Linked DNA regions of Homo sapiens: region 2 is linked to region 1. The links are contacts of gene promoters, found by promoter capture Hi-C in human tissues and cell types (Jung and others, 2019). All regions are on one chromosome and are shown on one strand. The core of a region is centred on a gene start or on the middle of the fragment in contact, and the rest is flanking DNA. Distances in the headings are between cores, read along the strand shown. Region 1 holds the start of CCBE1 (collagen and calcium binding EGF domains 1). Region 2 overlaps CCBE1 (collagen and calcium binding EGF domains 1).

What was found. The method cuts DNA at HindIII sites, captures the fragments that hold promoters and counts their contacts. A contact is called where the count stands out against the background at its distance.
Region 2: a contact is called between a fragment that was not itself captured here and the fragment with the promoter of CCBE1 in region 1, in 2 of the 25 tissues and cell types used here (aorta and thymus).

Annotation. Positions count from the first base shown.
Region 1 is chr18:59,695,366-59,702,144 of GRCh38, forward strand. It overlaps CCBE1 (collagen and calcium binding EGF domains 1), which reads right to left and starts at 2,058. Exons shown (of 11, transcript NM_133459.4): 1 at 1,847-2,058; 2 at 1,264-1,344. The coding sequence starts at 1,977. The HindIII fragment of the contact is 11,314 bases long and covers 1-5,774 here.
Region 2 is chr18:59,433,670-59,439,698 of GRCh38, forward strand. It overlaps CCBE1 (collagen and calcium binding EGF domains 1), which reads right to left. Exons shown (of 11, transcript NM_133459.4): 8 at 6,008-6,029; 9 at 5,874-5,909; 10 at 4,442-4,477; 11 at 1-2,472. The coding sequence ends at 2,239. Among named protein-coding and RNA genes, the nearest start is that of LMAN1, 77 kb to the left of the region's middle. The HindIII fragment of the contact is 7,625 bases long and covers 1-6,029 here.

The sequences.
Region 1 (6,779 bases), core at 808-3,307:
TTAACCTGCCAATTGAACATACTCCTTTCTCCTCTACTACCTCTCTCATTTTGTTCAGCATTCACCCCCCGCACACGCCAAGAGAAAGGAGCCTTTCCTAAGCCCAAGGAGTGACTTGATTTGCCTGATTATTGTCCCTTCACTGCCAACAACAGATTTAAGAGCAGAAGTACGCGATGTAACTGATGGTGCTTTTGCACCCATAAACTGACAGCCGTGGAACCACTTGGTCTGAACCTTTGGGTATATGAAATGCTCTCACCTGCAAGAAACGCTATGATTGATTCACAGGCTACAACCTTATAAGGAATAAAACATTGTTTTCTTTCAAGTTCGTTTCTAGGGACTGCTGCGTTACCTTGTACTACTCAGTATTTATCCTGGCAACCCGAACAGAGCATGTGAGTCTCCAGAGACAGTCAGGTGTGGGCATATGATCACATTACCTTGTACAGCGCCTCTAAAACGCAGATATCCAATAAACGTTTATGGGTGCATGTTCCCCTATCCAGTGAGAGCACTGGAACAGAACCAAGAATTCAATGGTGAAAAACCTAAATCAACCCTCATCTCCAAAAGGCTGCAAGCAGAACAGTGGTTCTCTCCTTTCAGAGACAAGAACCACCTGGGGAACATTTTATAACTACCGATTCCCTAGCCCCATCCACGCTTAGTTTTAACAAGCACCCGGGTCACTCATTTAACAAATACCCAGGTGAATCTGTGGCCCACATTTTTAGAAAGACTTTTTTCCTCTGCCCCAACAATCTTTTTGTTTTCACTCAACACAACCACTCACAATCCTCCCCCTACTTTTTTGTCCAGAGGCCGTGACAGCCACACTCTGCCCCAACAGAAGGTCAGAAGACAGACAAGTGCCAAGAATTGCCTTGTTGACGCTGTACTTTCAAAACAAAACACAAATACGAAAGCAGCCACCCGTGTTTGCTATGCCCCACTGTTTACACCCAAAATCCAATCCAATCTCCTTCACAGACTTCCACACAAGTATTTCAGGGAGCGGCAACCATCCTCAGGATCTCAGGGCACACACCCTAGACGCAAAGTCAGTTGCTCAGTGTTGCTCTGACTCCGATCCAACCAACCCTCAAAGATTCGCACCGCGCGGCACGCACCCAGCAGGTTCCAGCGTAAAAGCTGCTCCGGTCCCAAGCGCGTCTCCAAACCCCTCCTTTACAGCGCCGCCTCCCCAGCCAGCCCCGGTGCGCAGTGGCGAACAGCCCGCAGAGCCCCCAGGCTTACCTGTAGCATGTGGTGAGCTCGCCTGAAGACTTCAGACACGGGTATTTAGTCGTCGCGATTTTGCTCTCTGAGCAGATTTCTCTATGAAAAAGTGCAGAGGAAATGTTCGATTCTCAGCGGGAGAGCGGAGGCGGGCAGCGCGCGCTGGGGAATCCCTGGCGCGTGGGGATCGCCAGGCTCCCCGTCCCGGCGCTCTGGGCAGGGGCTGGTCCCCAAACGCGTACGCGGGGCAGACTCCGGCCACAGGGACGAGCCACGCGAGGGTCACGACGAAGCGAACCAGCTCCAGGAGAAAGGAAGCGGGGTTCACGAGCTGTGCCAGCCAGTGTGGCACCCGGGGGGAGGCAGGAACGCGGGGCGAAGGGTATCCCTGACGCGACCCACGGATGGCAGGGCGCAAAGGCTGATACCCGGGAGCGGAGGGAAGTGTCGCCCAGGACAGCTGAGCACTCTCCTTATCCCCGGAGAAGTGAGGGCGTGCGGATCGCTGTGGGAGTGGGCGCCGGGGAGGACCGCCCGCACCCCGCGAGCCGGGCGCGCATCAAGCAGGAGCTCGCCCTCCGCTGGGGCTTGCAGCGCTTACCTGTCGCCGTCCTCCGGCTCCTCTCTGTAGGTCCACGTGTGTCCCAACGCCAGGAGCAGCAGCAGCGGACCCAGGCTCCTGCCCAGCTGGCCCCTGGCAGCTCCTCCCCGGCTCGGAGGCGGCGGCACCATCAGGGAAGCTCCCGGCTTCTTCCCAGCGCCGAGCTCCGTCCGGACCAAGCGTCCTGCTCCTCCGCGGCCGCCGCCGCCTTCCCTCTTCCCGGCAGGGGGCGCCGGAGAGCAGGGGCGTTTGCACCACCTGCACGGGGAGCAGGGGTCCGGAATATTATGGGGCTGGGGGGAAAATGAGGCTAGGAGTTGGGGTATCGGATGCAAACCCAGCAGAGAAGCAGGTAAAGGGGGTACCTGCGGTGTCCGGCTGGCGCGAGGGCCCTGAGGTTCAAGTTGTCTCGTCGGGACGTTCACGTCCGATTGACAGACTTGCTGGACTCGGCTTGGGGCTGCGCCCTCGCCTCTTCCCTCTCCCTCCTCTGGGAGAAGCGCGCAGGGTGGGGAAAGCGGGCGGTTGTTTGCATTTTGCACCAGGGTCTCACGACCGGGAGGAGGAGGAGCTGATTCTCCACCGGGGAGAAGAGGGAGGGGGAAGAGAGGGGTTAATAAGCTTCCTTCCTGTTGTCCATGGGTTTCTAAAGCCCAGGGTCAGGCCAGTGTTCGTCTTTCCTCCGTGAGGACCTACCCTGAGATTTGCAACTATCTTAGTCTTCTTTTCTCTTAGATTATGTGAGGAAGGAGGAGTTGAAAGGCTACAACGGGCCTCTCAAATTGTTCAAACCTGAAATAGCGCTATTTATATAGTGTAATCACTCTTCCTTAAAACCTTTAGAAGAAAGTTCTCTGGTTGTTTCATTGGTCAATAAACCATGCGCTGTCTTCTTCATAACTCGAGTTCGGAACAAGTAAGGAGGTCTTTCTGGGAGCCTTACATCTCCTTGTCCTGAGCGGCTTTAATACTGTTTCCACGCCGCGCACATCAGAGCTGGAAACGCCCCCCCCCATCAAATGAGACACGTGGGGGCAAATTAATTACAGGTGCTGCTACCTGCTAGTGTATGCAGCCGCGTTGATAGGTAACAAGAAAACGGAGGAGGGGGGCCGTAAATCGGCTCCCTTGACGGTGACCCTAATTGTAATTCGTGTGTCAGCAACTTAACACTTTGTTGCGCTTTAGGAGTTTTCTCAGCCTTTTCCAGAGAAACTGGGGACGTGGATGTGGCCCAGAAATAAGTTGAAAAAGGAAAAGTTCTAATGCCTAAGCTCTAAAATATGCGTGGTTCTGCATCTCACAGGACAACGAGGTAAAAAGGTGGCTTGTTCACAAGTGACCGGTGTGTAAATTGGTTAGGTAAGCACATATTTTGATATACAGAATATGCTGGTCAACTGAGAATTACCACACATATCACATACACATTGACTTTTTTTTTTTTTTGAGACGGAGTCTCACTCTGTCGCCCAGGCTGGAGTGCAGTGTCTCGATCTTGGCTCACTGCAACCTCCGCCTGCCGGGTTCAAGAGATTCTTCTGCCTCAGCACCCCAAGTAGCAGGGATTACAGATGCATGCTTCCACACCCGGCTAATTTTTGTATTTTTAGTAGAGACAGAGTTTCACCATGTTGGCCAGGCTGCTCTTAAACTCCTGGCCTCAAGTGATCTGCCCAACTCGGCCTCCCAAAGTGCTGGGATTACAGGCGTGAGCCATAGCAGCCAGCCCACACTGATATTTTTGATAGCAATGACATTGTCATTCTTCCGTAGAATGCTATGTCTTTTCCTAAGATTTTTCATATTCAAGATTTTATTTGGTTCCCACAATATCCCTTCAATCTGAGCATCTGATTTCTTAGTTCTGTGAGGTGTGTTTTTTGTTGGCTTATTTTACAAAACTTACATATTCGGAAGACCACCCACTTGATATTAAAATATGACACTGCTACTTAACACAAATGAGTTAATTTTTATTTGATAATTCAGAAGACATTTCAGGATGTTGCAAAACTGGAGAGTGATCATCATGAGGTCAGAAAAAAAAAACCATGAGGTCAGAAAAAACTGGATTCAAACTCAGGCTGTTTGGTTTCCTGGAGGAGTGATCTGAAGCAATTTACTTCTGACACTCTGTTTTCTCATCTGTAAAATGGGGAAATATCTCTCATCAATTTTTATGAGTATTAAATGAAGCAATGCTTCTATAGCATTTTGTTTATCATGCCTGGCATATGTTGAGTGCCCTGTAAACATTATTACTTGTAACGTAATTATTGTATTGCACAGAACTTTAAGTTTTTGCCTTCTAGCCTTCTAGCTTTTCACTTCCTAGATATATAGGAATCCACTTTATAACAGTTGTTTGGGTTCCTAAAGACAGACCTCACTAAGCACATGAGGAAGAAACCCCTTCTGGGGCTTATGATAATTGTATCTCTTCAGATTGTGACAAAAAAGTGTTTGATATCCATCTTGGAAGGGAGAGGCCATCTTGTAATCTGGTAGGAGGTTCTATTTTTAATTCCTTACCAATTACTGTATCTTGACAACTTGCTGTCTTTTTTCTCATCTTTACGCATTTTATTCTTCTACTGTTGCATTGTGGACGTTAGTTCTACAAGTAACAGAGCGTGGTATAGGAGATTAATTATCAGTTTCATTAAATAGTTACTAGGCCACAAGTGCAGACCTGCAGCATTTCAGGGAAAGTGATTCAGGCTGCAAAATGATAACAGCAAAACCATTATACACAGCTGTGTGGCAGAAGATTGGCATCAGAGCTGACTTTGCCACCTTTTTATTTTCAGCTCCTGGTGCTGAGTGCCTATGAGAATAAGGGGTTAGAGAAGTTGCTGGGGCCCAGCAAACAGCTCAGGTTTGCACAGGGAGGAAATCCCAACGGTGGGTGGTCAGAGCATTTCATACATTTCTGTAAGAGGTGATCTGGAGCCGAAACCTTCTGAAAAACCTTTGCCTAGAGGCCTGTAATTTCAACCTACTGCCAGCTACTGACAGCATGGGGTGCAGTGAGGAGTTGCTTGTCCGGGGAGCACTGCCAAGCCGGAAAGAGCTATGGATGGCCATATATGGATACCTGCCCCCAAAAAGCTAAATACTCCTGTAAAAGACAAAATCTGCATTGCCCAGGCTGCGGGCTGCATGGGAGATGTCAGTGCTGGGGCTGACTGGTGGGAGCCTCAAGGGTGCTGAGTTTTCTTTCCTCCCTTCTAGACCATGTGCAAGCCCAGGCCTGCCCTGTCCCCTCACCTATGAAACACTGGCCTGAGAGAACATGCCATCCACCTCTTTCATAGGAGTGTTACAAAGATTAATGATAGGGCCCTAAATGCTCCTTGGGGGAGGCCGTGTGTGATTATGTGATTATTTCTTTTCAGCATACCACTCTCTGCAAAGTTTTTCATAAAGATCTGTCAGTTTCCCTGAAACAAACCAGAGAGCAGATAGTTATACAATTTACTGTGTCCTGGGGATGTGGGGCTGTGTCTGGGGCTTTCTAGTGCATACTATGTTATAGGTTAGAATCCCTGGTAGACCAGGTATTGTTAAGTAGTACTGCTGCATGTTGCCTGGGGGTGGGGTGACTGGCTGGAGAATAGAGAGACGGCTGCGTACAAAAGTAAAGTGAAAGGAAAAAAGAAAAGTAAACACCAGGACACAGGGCAGAGAATATGCTTCTAAATAAAATCAGTTGTCTCTTCTCAGTTTTAAGGGACTCCAACATCTTATTTGAAGAAAATCAGAATATAAAGAACAGACCACCACCAACTGGGACAATTCATTTCACCATTTAAAGATTTTCCTATAAAAAGGATTTGTGGTGGCTGACAAAAAATAAACTATTGTGTGTGTGTGTGTGTGTGTGTGTACATATGTACACAAAGTGTATGTAGTATAGGGCAAAATTAGACAAAGAAATTAAGGCAAAGGAAAAATCAGGATCAAACAGTAAAATAAAGCTGATGTTATGTTAATTGGCAGGGCTGTATAAGCAGAAAGTCCTGGGCCACGTTTCAAGCAGATCACAAGTCGGTTCTCAAATTCTCAGAAGTCAACTCAGGATAATTACATGATCAGTCATGAGATTCAAGGTAACCATAAAAGAAAAGCCTATAAATTGCTTGGAAAAAATGACAGTTTGTTCCCCCGGTCTCCCTGAAATATAGCAACAGTCACCTAACTGTAAGGTAAGGTGAAACAAAGCTCAACAAGTGTGGGTAAAGTTCATATTGTACTGTGAGTGATAGGCATACGATAAGATATCCCTAAAACAAAGAATTGCCCTGATACCTTTCCTTCAGTTTCAGTTTTGATTGACGTATATAGGCAGGTCTGCTTAGAGAATTAGGGTTACATCTTGGAAGGTGTGAAAGTGTGCCAGTCTCCAAACCATTGTGGGGGACTGTTTGAGGCAAGAAGAATAAAAAAAAAAGTTTTTAAAACAGTAAATGGATGTTAAAGCCCTGGTTTTTGGGCGTGTATATTACCTTTTCACTAAGCCTGTCTTAGTTTTAACTTGCACAAATTCTGAAAGTTGATTGAAGCTGTTGGTCTCTGGAATTTTCTCCCAAGGCAGGAAGAAATGTCTGATTCCTGTGTCCATGACAGAATCACACCATTTTTGCCCAATTTTGAAATAAAAGCCATTTTCATAGATTAGTTAGCTTTATACTTGGGTAGGCCACTCAAAAATGTACAAATAGAAAAAAGAGAACCTTCTAGCTACATGATTATCTCCAAAAATATCAAGAAAAATTATCCATGTGATTTGGATGTCTTATTTGGTCTGGAAAGTTGTAACACACAGGGGCCCAGTCTAGGTTTTCCCCCAAATCAGTATCTGTTGAGGCAATATGAGTTGGCAGTCTCCTTGACCAATCAAGAGCTATAGGATCAAACCTGGGATTTG
Region 2 (6,029 bases), core at 2,251-4,750, 260 kb before region 1:
TCTCGGCTCAGCGCAAGCTCCGCCTCCCAGGTTCACGCCATTCTCCTGCCTCAGCCTCCCGAGCAGCTGGGACCACAGGCGCCCACCACCACGCCCGACTAATTTTTTGTGTTTTTAGTAGAGACAGGGTTTCACTGTGGTCTCGATCTCCTGACCTCGTGATCCGCCCGCCTCGGCCTCCCAAAGTGCTGGGATTACAGGCATGAGCCACCAAGCCCGGCCTTTTTTTTTTTTTTTTTTTTTTTTTAATGAGACAGAGTCTCCCTCTGTTGCCTAGGCTGGAGTGCAGTAGCGCAATCTAGGCTCCCCCCGCAGGTTAAAGTAATTCTCCTGCCTCAGCCTCCTGAGTAGCTGGGATTACAGGTGTGTGCCAACACGCCCAGCTAATTTTTGTATTTTTAGTAGAGACAGGGTTTCACCATGTTGGTCAGGCTGGTCTCGATCTCCTGACCTTGTGATCTCCCCGCCTCAGCCTCCCAAAGTGCTGGGATTAGAGGCGTGGGCTACCACACCCGGCCAAGAGGGATTTTCTTTAAGCAAGCTTTCACAGTAGTGGAGTTAAATGATGTGGGCTAAAAGGTGGAGGCAAAAAAGCCAAAAAGAAATGGGAAAGGACATGGCAGGATGGGAAATTCCAACATGAGCTAATATGAGTGTGAGAACGATCATTTGCAGGAGAGTGAAAATCTCCCGCAAAGGTAGATAAAGAGCCACTTTGTGTGTCCAGTGAGAAAGTGGACTGTGAGTAACCTATAAGCTGCTCATTGGAAACAAGAGGGCCCTCAACAACGTTACAAAGGAGCAGATCATCCTTCTGGTCTCTTGCTCCTGGTGCTTCTGAATCCACAGCAAACCTTGGCAGGAACATGCTTCCCTTTGCCACCCAGAGGTGCTCTGAGAAAACACTCTAACTCACTAGGAGGTGGAGATATAGACCTTTTTCTGAACTGCTTCTCACATGCAGGGGAAAATAAATCAAAGAGAAGGCCTAAAAGAACTGGAACTTGGACTAAATTAAAGAAAATTAAGAAAAAATGAGAATAGGAAGGAAGTTTTTGCAAACAAGGAAAACCACTATTTTTTTTTCTCCCCATCCAAGATAACTTTCAATAGTGTATTACTCTCAATATGTTGGTGGCAAGCTTGGTTGGCTCCAGACAAAAACTTGTAATACCCAAGGAGAAAAAATTTACCTACCGCTGCTGATGGCATTAGTGAGGTCAGCCCAAGCCAGCAACCTCCTTGCAGACTTCAGCCCCACTGTATATTGGTTCAGCCTGGATCATGGCACCTAATGGTACCTTCTGGGCACCTGCTCAGAACCAGGAATTCTGCACCTCTCTCTAAGCTCAGCCAGTTTATTGAACAAATAATCTATATTTATAGAGCAGACTCCACTGTTGATTAAACAGCTTTAAAATATTATAGCAAACGAGAGCCCATTGTTTTAATGTGAATCCAGGCATTTCACTTTGTTTTTTTGAAAAGAGAGTTTAATCTTCTTCCCTAAATAGGATACTTACAGATAAGCATGGCATGAAACCTTAAGCACCGTATTTGAATTTTAGAATGTGGCAATCTATATAACAGTAAATATATGACTGTGATTCTTTTCTATCTTCTCTAAACGCCATTCAATTCTCTCCTCTCTTTAATTGAATTTGGGAAACAAGGTTTGACAAAGGGATACAATATTTAAAGTCTACTAGAAGCACAAGGAAAAAATTCTCCACCAAAGCACATCGACACGTTTGTCCTCCCCACCCCTTTTTAACTGAAGAGCCCCAATTTTGATACTAGAGGAGTTATGGTCTATTGTGAACACACATCTTAGAAGTAGCCTCACATTTTCTTAGAGCTCACTTTGTCATTTTCCCCCTTTTGATACTCTGCCAAATTTAACTTCAAGAATTTATGATTTAAGACACTGTGAGAGTACTTAAATCCAAAGTTCCTGGAAAAATAGGATGTAAAAGAAAAGTTACAATGCAAACCACCCCAATGGACTCTTAGTGAGAAGCAGGTAAATCAATCATTCACTCCCTCATGTCTGCAGGCCTAGGAGGGGACTCTGAAAATAGCATCGTATTTGGAAGAAGAGGAGTGGAGAGACGTCAGGAGAAGAGAAGAGAAAAATGTATGTTTTCTAGGTCTCCAGTGGTCTTTCTTCTCTTTAGATGGTTTAACTGCAGGTGAGTTGATCTTTCTCTTCCTTTGGCGTGACGGTGTTGGGATGTGCTATGGGTAGAAGTCTCTGGGGGCTCTCAAGTCTCTTGTCTCAGTTCTTCTTGGATGGTCATCTCCAGAGCCCAGGTCCATGGCTTCTGGGTAGCTGGGAAATTCCTGAGGTAAAGGGAACTCCTCTGCTGAAGAGTGAGTCCGGTGCCCGAACACCTTTTCCTGCAGCTCAGTGATGTCATTGCGGATGTCAGCCAGCATAAGTAGCAGGAAGTCGAAAGAACCAGGGGGTCCCTGTGTACATGGGAGGAATCAAAGCTAGAATACGACAGACAGCAATGGCCTCCGGGGCTCCATGACTTGACCTGCTGCTTGCTGGCAACTACTTTCTCAATAACTCTGTGCCCCAAATGGAGCCAATGTGAGGACTGCTACAGGAGCCTGGGGGTCCTCCATATTGTTTTCTAATTCTGTCACTTCTCAGCTGAGCTTTGGTGATGTATTCACCTTTCCTCCCTCCTAACGCTTTATCAAATCCAGTAGAGGAAAGGATATAAGAATAACTCTCCTAGGTTACTTTCCAAAGCAGTCTGGAAGATGCTTATGAAGGCAGCAGAGCAGTGGTTAAGAGACTGGGGTTCTGTTGGATTTGAATCTCATCTCTGCCGCTTACTAGCTGTGTCATCTTAATTTCTTGTGGTTCAGTTTCCCCATCTGTAAAACGGGGATAATAATAGTCCCAACTTCATAGGGTTTTGTAGGATTCATAAGTGAGGATTTAAGCAAGTAAATACGTGTAAAGGGCTTTGAGCATAATACGTATTCAAAAATGTTATCTGGGCCAGGTGTGGTGGCTCACGCCTATAATCCTAGCACTTTGGGAGGCCGAGGTGGATGGATAGCTTGAGCCCAGGAGTTCAAGACCAACCTGGAAAACATGGTGAAACCCTGTCTCTACAAAAATTTAACAAAAATTTAGCCAGGTGTGGTGGTGGGCACCTGTGGACCCAGCTACTTGGGAGGCTAAGGTGGGAGGATCACTTGAGCCCAAGAGGTCGAGGCTGCAGTGAGCCAAGATTGTGCCACTGCACTCCAGCCTGGGTGACAGAGTGAGACCCTGTCTCAAAAAAAACAATGCTGTTATTTTTTAAAAGCAAAATTATTAAAATGTTTATAAGATGGCTGACTATAAGCACAAACTAAATGAAGTTGAGAGGATGTTGTAAAGACGTCAACTCCTCGTTGACTAGGAAAGGTCCAAACAAAATCTTCCTAATTTTTCTATGTATTGAGTATCCTTTATCATCATATAGTATTTACTAAGCCTTAATTTCATATAGCGCTGTGTGGGGCATGGTAAAAAAGAAATGCACAAACACGCATGTTCTGGGCTTGTCAGAAGCTTGTAGTAAAATCGTTATCATCTCCCGCAACTGCTGCTACAGCAGCGGGCACCGTGGAAGCAGAGCTTACACCGTAAAGCACTAAGAGAGGCACAGTATTTTCATATCATTTGACCCTCACAGTAGCCACTTCAGGGATGGCAGGTCAGATTCCACTATCGCCACTGCACAGTGGGGGGCAAGAATGCCCAGAGACCCTCAGTGAAGTGCCCGTGGTCAGAAAGCCAGCAGGTAGAAGAGTTGAGATGGGAACCCACGACTCCTACCTCTGTGGCCACAGCCGCTGGATTTCAGAAATGATACTTCTTCAGAAGCAGTGACGTGGTTTGAATTTTCTATGCTTTTGAATACTACTATTTCTCATTTTTAATCTCCCAGATACTATGCTTATATGCAGCTAATTTCTTCTCAGGTCCTAAACAGCCCTGCGTGGTTTTGCACTTTTTAAGAGGAGATGGCCATCTGGCCTGCTAGGGTTGCAGCAGTGGCTAAATTCTCAAGTACGCAGAGTTATGATTTAAACCCATAGATTTCCTTCCTAGACCTTTCAAATGTTTTATGATAATACTTGGAAACAGACTCATGGCATAGCAGGGTTTTGAGCTTTAGGAAAGACATTTCAAATAAAGATTAGCCATGATAAAAGAGAAAACAGCAACAGAAAACAAATTTGAAAAATAAATCCAAACTAGCAGCTAAGGGCTTCTATGACTCTCTTCCTAACCACAGAGTTCTGTTCAGGTGGGCTGAGTGGCATCAGGAAGGGGCGGGCTTTTGCTACTAGACCAACCTATAGGCTCATCAGAGCTGCATCCCTGAGAACGTTCCCCTGGGGAAGCAGGACACAGAGTGCTACTTACTGGAGACCCTCTGGGCCCAGGCGCTCCTCTCTCCCCCTAAAAACAGAAAGGCCAGGGTTAGCTTTCTAGAGCACATGGATATCACAAGAATAGTCTCTATTTATACACCCACCATAACCACTTCCCTGCACAAAACAATAAACATTTTCTATAGAAAACATATGTAAAACTGAGCTGGACTCACGGGACCACTTATTTGAACAGGACTGCTTGGGTCAAGTGTCTCTCATTCTGATTTCCCTCAAGCCCATCTATTTTCAAACCTTCTTGGCAAGAGGAATGTTCATATTTCCCAACAGCATGTGGAGTAACAAACTTTCTGAAGTAACTCACACTGACTTCTTTGTGAGGCAAAAAAGAGCAGGCAGCTCTCAGAGGGGAACCACCCTGCTTGCAAAAAGAATGGAGCATCTCCTGTTCCTGAGAAATCTCACAGAAATGGAAACACACAAAAAGCTATCCCGTAAAGCAACACTGGTTAAAGAGAAAAACACATGTGAGAATCACAACACAGAGGCTCATTTAAAATTTACAGGGGTCACTTTTCCTATGAGTGGTTGTGGTGGTTGTTTTTGTCTTTGGGGTTGGTTTTGGAATTGAAGACAATGGCTTTTCAGATTTTGTTCCCAGCTTTGGGGAAAAAGTTCTATCTGGTATCTGTGTCTCACTTCTGCTGCATGCAAAATGGGGTTGGTAAACAGTGTCTGGTGAGCTTTCCTGGATGTCAGTGCAAGAGGTAGAAAGTGAGAGACCTTCAGGCCGGGAGCGGTGCCTCACACCTGTAATACCAGCACTTTGGGAGGCTGAGACGGGCAGATCACCTGGGGTCAGGAGTTTAAGGCCAGCCTGGGTAACATGGCGAAACCCCGTCTCTACTAAAAAATCCAAAAATTAGGCCGGGTGTGGTGGCTCACGCCTGTAATCCCAGCACTTGGGGAGGCCGAGGTGGGCGGATCACGAAGTCAGGAGATGGAGACCATCCTGGCTAACACGATGAAACCCTGTCTCTACTGAAAATACAAAAAAATTAGCCAGGTGTGGTGGCGGTCGCCTGTAGTCCCAGCTACTCGGGAGGCTGAGGCAGGAGAATGGCGTGAACTCGGGAGGTGGAGCTTGCCGTGAGCTGAGATCGTGCCACTGCACTCCAGCCTGGGTGACAGAGTGAGACTCTGTCTCAAAAAGAAAAAAAAAGAAAAATCCAAAAATTAGCCGGGAGTGGTGGTGCACACCTGTGGTCCCAGCTGCTTGGGAGGCTGAGGCGGGAGAATTGGGCTTGAGCCAGAGAGGCAGAGGCTGTAATGAGCCAAGATTGTGCCATTGCACTCCAGCCTGGGTGACAGAGCAAGACCATCTCAAAAAACAAAAACAAAACAAAACAAAAAAATCGAAAGTGAGAGACCTTTAGCTTGTGAGGACCACTCATAAGGCTTACCTTAGAACCATCTCTTCCTGGTGCCCCTGGTGGACCCTGTAATACAAAAGGATCTGGTTTAACCACAGGCAAAAGCATGGGACAAAAACACATTTTCCCCCAAAAAGGAAGTGGATCTCTGATAAGATACTGACCACAGGGCCCCTCCGGCCTTGC